Linked DNA regions of Homo sapiens: region 1 is linked to region 2. The links are contacts of gene promoters, found by promoter capture Hi-C in blood cells and fetal thymus (Javierre and others, 2016). All regions are on one chromosome and are shown on one strand. The core of a region is centred on a gene start or on the middle of the fragment in contact, and the rest is flanking DNA. Distances in the headings are between cores, read along the strand shown. Region 1 overlaps LINC02212 (long intergenic non-protein coding RNA 2212). Region 2 holds the start of ANKRD33B (ankyrin repeat domain 33B).

The links. The method cuts DNA at HindIII sites, captures the fragments that hold promoters and counts their contacts. A CHiCAGO score of 5 or more calls a contact.
Region 1: a fragment that was not itself captured here is called in contact with the fragment with the promoter of ANKRD33B in region 2 in 6 of 17 cell types (neutrophils, total B cells, naive B cells and 3 more); the score reaches 11.5 in neutrophils.

Annotation. Positions count from the first base shown.
Region 1 is chr5:10,489,228-10,493,962 of GRCh38, reverse strand. LINC02212 (long intergenic non-protein coding RNA 2212) reads left to right here. Exons shown (of 3, transcript NR_104606.1): 3 at 1-436. Among named protein-coding and RNA genes, the nearest start is that of LINC02212, 11 kb to the left of the region's middle. RefSeq lists an enhancer at 3,834-3,883. The HindIII fragment of the contact is 3,953 bases long and covers 1-3,440 here.
Region 2 is chr5:10,562,378-10,566,908 of GRCh38, reverse strand. It overlaps ANKRD33B (ankyrin repeat domain 33B), which reads right to left and starts at 2,839. Exons shown (of 4, transcript NM_001164440.2): 1 at 2,076-2,839. The coding sequence starts at 2,441. RefSeq lists enhancers at 383-884, 1,176-1,265, 1,656-1,865, 988-1,881, 1,882-2,776 and 1 more and silencers at 986-1,035, 2,006-2,055, 2,396-3,255. The HindIII fragment of the contact is 7,834 bases long and covers 1-4,531 here.

The DNA of each region.
Region 1 (4,735 bases), core at 215-2,714, 72 kb after region 2:
AGGCCAGGGCCCTTGATGGATTCCCAGATACCAGCTGCTCCTCCAGACACCAATTCCACCCTCCACCTTTCTGTGTCCGTCCCAGACCAAGGCAGCCCAGGTAAGGAGCCATGAGTAGGAGGTTTCCCAGTGGGTAGAGGTGCCAGACTCAGCAGCTAGAAATATAGAATGCTGGGTTAAATGTAAATTTCAGATCAATGATAATTTTTTGGGTAAGTGTATCCCATGCAGCATTTGAAATACAATTTAATCAAATTTAACTAGATGTCCTGCATGTTGTAGGAAACTCTCTAGGAGGTGTGTCTCCAGGATAGAGGGCCAGTGGAGAATGGCAGCCCACACTGTTATGGGATGAAGTGTGTCCCCCAAAATCAACATGTTGAAGCTCTAACCCCCAGAACCCCGGAATAAAACTATATTTGGAGTTAAGATCTTTAAAGAGGTAATTATGTCCTAATGAGTTATTTAGGGCAGACCCTAATCCAATAGGACTGGTATCCTTCTAAGAAGAGGAAGGCACATCAGAGGAGAGGCCATGTGAGGACACCATGGGAAGGCGGCCACCTGCAAGCCAAGGAGAGGGGCCTCAGGAGAAACCAGCCCTGCTGACACCCTGAGCTCCTTGCAATTCCAGCCTCCTAGACTGTGAGAAAATACACTTGTGTTATTTAAGCCCCCCAGTCTGTGGTTCTTTGCTGTGGCAGCCCTAAGAATCTAATACACATGCCAACCTGTCTAGGCACAGATGGCCCATCTTCAGGGAAAGGATGCAGGGGGATCTGCAGGCCTGCCGGGGCTGAACCAGGAAGTTGTGCCCTCAGCAGTGGAGGCAGCCTCTCCCAACCCCAAGCCTCCAGCCCCTCCCCTCGTGACATGCATGTTCTGAGTTCAGTCTGTTTCCAAGCTCCTTCCCGTGCCTGTGGAGTCAATGTCACCCCCAGTCTCAGGGTATCCTTGCACTGATACGCTCCACTACACCCTCACACCCACCCCGTGGCTTCCTGAACTGCACCCCCAAGTGAACCACTCTGCATCTGGCTTCTCCATCAACCACGTGCCCTGGAGTCCCTCTGAGCTGTCCATGTGGGCAGCCTCCTTTTGAAGCCTGGAGTGGGTGAGTGTTGAGCAAAAGGTGATGGCAGGGGCTAGAGCTCATTTCATTCCTGAGTAAGGGAAGCTCTAAGATTCCTTCTGTACCATAAGTGAGTGCTGCCCTGCCTGGGAGGGTGCACACCCTGCCCTGAGACTACTGCCTCAGAGCATGGGCAGCTGGTCAACCTAGGCATTGCCCATGCCTCCCACATGGGTGGGGGGCAGCCCCACCGCCCCTCTGTTCATCTTCCATTGACCTGTGGAGTCTCAGAGATCTGTCTTGATTTTTTTTAGACAGTCTTGCTCTGTCACCCTGGAGTACAGCGGTGCAATCTCTGCTCATTGCAACCTCTTCCTCCCAGGTTCAAGTGATTATCGTGCGCCAGCCTTCCAATTAGCTGGGATCACAAGCATGCACCACCATGCCCTGCTAATTTTTGTATTTTTAGTAGAGACAGGGTTTCGCCATGTTGGCCAGGGTGGTCTCAAACTCCTAACCTCAAGTGATCCACCTGCCTCGGCCTCCCAAAGTGCTGGGATTGCAGGTGTGAGCCACCACACCCAACCTGTCTTGATTTAATAGTCATTCAAGGTGCTCATTTCTTGACTGAATGACTACAAGAGCAGATATAAATGAACACATGCAATCAGTCTTGCCCTGGGTCTGAAGTAGGATTCTCAGCACCAGCGACATTTGCACTGGATCATTCTCTGCGGTGGCACTAGCCTCTGCCCTGCAGGACGTTTAGCAGTACCCCTGGACCCCACCCACTAGACGCCAGCAACAGTTCCCTGCCCCAGTTGTGACAACCAAAAATGTCCTCGGACATTACTCCAAGCACCAAGGTTGGGAACCGCTGTTCTCAAGGTTTCCAAATGCATCTCACGCCATAGGTCTATGCACAGAATAAATGAATCATTCACTGTTGACCAATGAAGGCTTTGTTTGGAGACAGGTGTTATAACAGCAGGAAGAAAACTCCCCAAAGGAAAAGTGTGCTATCAGCTGAAGCATCTCCCAAGTCCAGCTCTGCACCCCCACGTGCATCCCCACACGAACGTGTTGCCAGGAATCAACCGAACCCCTGTTTCTCTCGCAGAAAATTGGTGGGAGCAATCCTCGCTTGCGTGTCAGGATGCCTGTCCAGGTGAAGCCAGCATGAGTCTCTCCAGATTCTAAGGCAGTGATGGGAAAGTGAAGGAAGCAGAAATGGCCAAGGGCCATCCTCTGTCAGTAATTCACTCTGTCAGCCCTCCCTAAGCCGGGTGGTGGGTGTTATGCATCAGGACGCCGGGCTCTGGTGGGGTAATGAGAGGGACTCATAAGTGGCCAAGCTGTGACTCAAACCTGGCAGGACTCCCACTGGCTTCACTCTGCCCTCTTAAATTCTACAATTAGAGCTCCCCAGGAGAGAGCAACCCATTGACTTAAATGTTCACTCACCTGTAAACAGGTGACATGAGATTTTCTCCCATTCGTGGGTTTCCTGATGTCAGGATGGAGCACAGAGCAGGGGCCGTCGGGCACCTATAGGCTGAAGGGAACCCTGGGTAGAGGATAGTGTACGTTTGTTTCATGATGTTGCCAGGAGCTGGCCCTTTGCTGTAAACCAGGTCCTGTTTTGAGCGTGCTGGGAAGTTCAGAAGCAGAGTTCCATAGACACTTCTGAGATGCACAGGCACCTCTCCTGCCTAATGTGGCCAGGAAAAATTGCCCTGATAAAGCCAATGACATCATAGATTAGAACCTGAGGAACCCGCAGCCTAGTAGTTCCCGATCTTGCTGCCTATTAACATCACGGGGACGCCTTTCAGAGCTCCCCAGGTGATGTTAATGGCAGCAAAATCAAGAACCACTGTGAATAGGCAGCAATCGATGTCCAGGCCACTCCCCACCAACTAAATCAGGGTCTCCAGGATGGGCTCATGCCTCCACGGTTCCTGGTTCCCCAGGTGCAACTGCGACCTCCCTCAGTGATCCAGTGTGGGCTTCTCACACTTTAATGCACATCTGAACGAATCGGGGCTCTTGTGAAAATTTGAATTCTGGCTCAAGAGGCTGGGATGAGCCTGAGATTCTGCTAGGAGCTAGGAAAAGTGTGATCCAGAGCTAGGAAAAGTGTGATCTTGGATGCTTGTCATCTGGGAGCTTGTTAGAGGTGCAGGATCTCAGGCCCCACCCAGAACCTAAGGATCAGAATCTACATTTGAATAAGGTGCAGGTTTGTTGAATATACGTCCCTAGTTTGAGACAACCTGCTACAACCTGAAGCCTCTATTTGCTCATGAGCAAGTGAGGGCCAGAGAGATGGAGCCCTGGACCCCACAGCTACTCAATGCAAAAAGCTTTAGTAACTGTGCTTGCTGTAACCCACGCGTCTTCTTCCCACCATTGCTAGCCTCACTAAAGATTGCATTTGTTTCTCTGACAATGATGACTTCAGGCAATGTATAAAACTTGCTCCTCCTGTTAACATTTAATTCAGGCGTGAAACCAAACAAACCCAAAAATGGAGGAAGGAAAGAGAAGAAATGGGGCTAAAAAAGATCTAAAAATGGGACAGAAGCAAGGTGCCTTTTTCATCTTCTCTTTGATTAAAAAAGGTCTGTTAGCTCGAAGCCCACAGGTATGTGACTCAGTGCAGACGAGGGGAAACTCCGTGGGAAGTTTTGGATCTTTCCTATTAGAAGAATCAGGAATTTAGCCCAGCTCAGGGAAAACATATGAGCTTCCTTTGACTCTCCCAGGATGAGCTAGTTTCAGTATCATGGTGAAAAAATAAAATAATACAAAGGCGTTCACCAAAAGGAAGTGCTGTTTCCTCTATTTCTGAACCCTCAGAGAGCTAAAATGATGCTGATGAGTCAGAAGCTAGCGCCCCTGAAGGAGCCACCAAAGGAAGATACTGAGCTTTTAATGTTTCCTTAAAGGGCAGCCCTAACCCCTCCCAGTGCGGAGCTGATTTTTGGAAATAGCCAGAAGTGGTTTCAAGTCACATCAGGTGATTGAGGTGGGTGACCAAACTCAGCACGATGTTAGAAACAAATCCAAATGTGACAATAAGTGGCACTCCTTGTTTATTTATTTTGAGACAGTGGTCTCGCTCTGTCACCCCCCTGGAGTGCAGTGGCATGATCATGGCTCACTGCAGCCTCCACGTCCCAGGCTCAAGCCATCCTCCCACCTCAGTTTCCCAAGTAACTGGGACTATAGGCATGTGCCACCATGCCCAGCTAATTTTTTTATTATTTATTTTTTGTAGAGACGAGGTCTCACTATGCCGCCCAGGCTGGTCTCAAACTCCTAGATTCAAGTGATCCTCCCACCTCGGCCTCCCAAAGTGCTGGGATTACAGGCATGGGCCACTGCACCGGCCCTGGTTTCTTCATGTGGGATGTCACCCGGCTCTAAAAGGCAGTTTCTTATAAAAGTCCCAGCTGCAGCTTGAGCAGGAATAGCTGCATGGACAACAGAGTGGAGCTTCTCAACCTCCTTTGAAGGGCAAAAGTGGGTCTGATGGGCTGTTCGAAGCGGGTCCCTGAGGGTCGCATTCCTTGCATCCAACTCCCACCTCCTTCCTTCCTTCCCCTCCCTCCCTCGTCTTTCTTTCTTTCTTTCCTTCTTTTCTTTCTTTCTTTCTTC
Region 2 (4,531 bases), core at 1,590-4,089:
GATGGTAAACACAAGCCTGGGGCCAGGCCTTCCCAGAGCCTTGTGGGCACTAAGCCATTTTATGCTCACATCCTAAGAGGAGAGGCTGCCCTTATCCCTATTTTACAGACGAGGAAACTGAGGCAGAGAGCTGCTGGGAGGCTGGAGCTAGCCTCCCATACCACGGCCCTCCCCTGCCTCTCTGCTGTGTGGCCTGGAGACTCAGTCTGTTAGGCTCGAGCCCCTGGGGATGGTTTACGTTGCTGTCAGTTTTCTTCAATGCAGCTGTTTTCAAACATTTATGTTTTGCCCCTAAAGGAAACATTATATAAAGCTGAGCCCAGTGGTGCCCTAGAGTGGGGACTGGGCGAGCCAGGCCCCTCCTGTGCCCATTCCAGCCCACTGGAGACCACCAGGCTGCCCAGGACAGGGGGAGAGGCCCACCCCACCTGTTCCTTTATGAGCTTGGTGAGGCTTCCTTTAAAGCGGGCCCCCATACTGGCTTCCAGAAAGCAAGGTTTCTGATTACACACATCTGGGCCTGAAAACTCAGTTAAACCAAATGTAGAACTTGAGAAACAGGCCCTAGGACTTCGGGTGGAGCTCCAAGCCCTAATCACATGCCAGCCAGGGCATCTGTCGCCAGGGCTGGGGGAGGAGGCATTGCAAGAGGAATGGCAGCAGGAACTACAGGGCTCCAGGTGATGCTACCTACGGGGACGCCACCTCAGGTCTCACTGCCTAACATATGACAAGCACAGACCCTTCCTCCAAGTTCAAATGTTGTGTGATATGGTTTGGCTGTGTCCCCACCCAAATCTCATCTTGAATTCCCACGTGTTGTGGGAGGGACACGGTGGGAGGTAATTGAATCACGGGGGCAATGTAGTACAAGGGGAGAGTGACATTGGAGGGCTTCCCATCCACCTAAGCCCAGCCCAAACCACAGTCAGGGCAAACCACTTGCCCCACCCACTGCAGGATAAACCAAAGGCACAAGGTCACCCGGGTCCCCAAGTCAAAGCACATGTTTTCTGTCAGCTGCAGGCTCCTGAGCAAAAAGCATGTGCATTTGTGCTAGGCTGCATCTGCAGATACCACGGTCCTTGGACAATACAAAAATCAGGTGAGAACGCTGCCATTTGCCCACTGAGCACAGACTACGGGGAACTTGGCCACCGTGGTCACTCTGCAGTTTTCCCTTGAAGTGCTTTGCTTGGTGGAAGGTGTTCCACCAGCCAGTCCTTCTCAGGTCTTCTTAAGCCAACTTTTTTTCTTTTCCTTTCTTTTCTTTTCTTTTCTAAACATCTCGTTTTCTCTGAATCTGGTCATAACGAAAGGATAGCCTGTGCCTGCCTCCACGCCTCCTGCCCTACCCGGGTGGATGCCCGCGGCTCTGGGGCTCTCCCTATGCCCTGACTCTGGGGAGCCCCGGCTGGCATTGGCTCGCGAAGGTGACCTGCGGACAGACCAGTCAGAGATCACGTTGGCTGGTCGCGGCGCGGGCCACAAAGCTCAGCGGAGGTGGGGTAGGGGACCAAGCTGTCCCGGCGAGGGAAGAAACTGTTGCTTCCAAATCATTGCGGCTGGAGGAGCCGATCTGCGCCCCAGCGTGTTAGGACAAGGGCGGCGCGAGGGGCCCAGGGGCCAAATGGGGCGCTGGGCAGGAGGGGCTGTCTCCTGCAGGGGAGGAGGAATGGTCCCCTGCCAGGGACCTGGGGAAAGGTAATAGTCAGGAGGGGACCGGGCCGCAAGAAGCCCATCCTGGATTGCAGCACGGGCAGCCAGCGCGAATTCAGTCAGGAGGTCCACGGGGACCGGTAAACGAGAAGGGGATGCGGTGAGGACGCCGGACTGGCGTTTCTGCCGCGCTGACACCTCGACTGCTCCCTCCCCGCACCGCGTCCCCCAGCCTGAGACGGGGAAGCCACCCAGGGCACCGCGCTCCCAAACAGCGGGGAAAAGGCGCTCTGGGCGGCGGCTGAGTGACCGAGGGACCGGTCCGGAGCCAGGAGCTGGGAGGCGCGGGGATGTGGTGGGGAGGAGGGGAGTGGGGGCAGTGAGGGGGCTCAAATCCTGCGGGGACGCCCGCTTACCCTGCCGTTGCGGTCAGTCTCCTGCGCCTCCTCGACGCTCACCCCGCGCCGCACCAGCGTCCGCAGCAGCCCCACGTTGTTGGCGCAGGCGGCGCGCAGGAGGGTCGCCGTCTCCGGGACGCTTTCCGGGACGCCCTCCGGGACGCTCTCCGCGCTCTCGACGCCGTGCTCCTCCTCGTCCTCGAAAGGGTAGAAAGAGTCGTCCGAGGCGATGCTGCGGGTGTCTGGCAGACTCGAGAAGTCCTCAAACTCTTCGTAGTCAGCGGGGTCCTCCTCGACCTGCGCGCCCCGGGGTGGGGACGGCGGTGGTGGGGTCATGCAGCGCGCCCCGCCGCCCTCCGGCCCGGTCCCGGCCAGCAGCACCATGCCGGCGGCCGGGGCGCGGGCCGGGGGCCGGGGCGCGGGCAGGAAGAGCGGGACGCGGGGCGCGCGCCGAGGTCCCCGCTTCTCGCTTCTGCGTCCCCAGAGAAGCCGTGGCCCGCGCGCTCCAGCTCGGCGGAAACCGGCACCAGGCGGCTGCGCTCAAAGAAAAAAGTCTCCGGAGGCTGAGCGAGCCCCTGGGGTGGGCGGGACCGCGGGGGCTTTCCGAGGCGGGGCGGGGCGGGGCGCGGGGACACGCCTTCCCCCGGGGCCTTCCCCTCGCGCCCCTTCCTGGCCAGAGTTCAGAGCCAGGCAGGCGCTCTCTCGAGCGCGGGGACTGGGCACCTGGCAGCGTTGCCCCAGAGCTGGGGACAGCTGGCGCGGGAGAAGCAGAAGCAATCACTAAAGAAGCCGAACCCGAGTCGCGGGCGGCAAGCGGCCCCGCCCCTCCCTCCGCCGGCCCGCGGGATGGGGGCGGAGGTGGCGGCGGGGGGACGCCGGGGCGGAGCCGGCCTCCAGCTTCGGGAACCTCGGACCCCTGGAGCCGGCCTCCGCCGAGGGCGTCGGGCCCCCGGACCTGGGTGGGGCCGGTTTCTCCCGCCGCTTCAGAGGAGCAGAGCGGGTTTTCTCCCTTCGGGGGATCCCGGGCTTCGGGGCTGACTCCACCCGGCCGCGGCCGCTTGGAGGCCGGGGAATCCCCGGGGCGCTTGGCGGGCAGAGGAGCCGGGCGCGGGAGCGGAGCCGTCCACCTGGGACCTGTGCCCGGGGAGCGCTGCGGGCCGGGCCACTCTGAACTGGGGGCGGTCGGCTGCTGTGGGGGAGTCCCAGCCCGGAAGGGAGGACAATCCTCAGAGTCCCCCGTCTCGCGGAACCGGGGCCGGCCGTGGCTTGAGGGTTGGTCAGATCCTGGGATGGGGGGCGGGGTGTTCCGGAACCTCAGGGAGCATCTGAGTGGGAACGGACGACGAGGAACTCCCCGTCCCCATGCCTGGCCTGTGTCACGTGCGGGGATCTGCGGACTCACCCCCGGAGGCTGCGACTGGGCGCTGACCCCACGTCTGGCTGCCCAAAAGAGCAGGGCCGCGGGCGACAGCCGCAGTCCAGGCCCACAGCCCCTCTGGCCCGGCCTTGCCCTCTCCCCGTCAGTCCTGGCGCCGGGGATGGGCGGGGAGGAGGAGGGCGTGTGAGGATTTGCCACAGGGAGCCCTTGACTTCGGGGTAGGAGGCGTCGTGAGCCAATCTTGGGGGAAGGTCTCTGCGCAAAGGCGCGGAGGTGCGCTCGCGCCCGTCGCAGGTCAAAGACTGCGGAGGCCACCAGCCCTGTGTCCCCCTAGCCTCCTTCCTTCCTTTTTTTCCCCCGATCTTGACAGCGTGTCCACCAGCTGCCAGCCGGTGGGAGGCCCTCGCGGCCCCAAGGTGAACACAGCTAGGCTGGCGCAGCCGCTGGGGACCAGGCTTGAGGCCCACGTGCCGCTGGGCAAGCTGAGGGGCACGAGGGCACCGAATCCGAAACAGCCGTGGGAGGTGTAGGATGAGGACACGTTTAAACTGCGAAGCCGCTCGAGCCCTCGTGTCACACCGCACTGGCCCGACCCGCTGTCCTGGTCGCCTGGTCTTCCAGTGTCTCCAGCAGGAGCCAAAGGGCCTGCTGGCGGCCCCCGACCCGGCATCTGCAGGGCCCCGGAGGGTGGGGCGCGCGGGAGCACCGATTTCTGGTGAAGACGCCCTCGCACCTGGGCGGCTCTGAGCGAGCAGCGAACTGAGACTCGCTGGCCTCCTTCTCTACTCCGGGGATTCTTTCTGCAACCAAAAATAGCCCCCAGATTACAGTAAACTCTACCTTTTTGTGTAACTGACCACAGTTTGCATCAATTCCCACTGGGAATTTCCCCTTTCAAGGTTGAGGGTTGTTTCCAAAGGCCTGGGGTAGTTACAATTTCAAGTGCCCCCTGAGGGCTGAGTTGGGTTTGCTGGACCCACTGTCCTCCCAGGGAGAGCACTGCGTCACTTTACAGCAAGAGTCCCGGCTGCGGGTCACCAAGGCCCAGGTGGACAGGGCCAGGCCCTGAGAGGGGAGCACCACGCAGCCTTTTCTG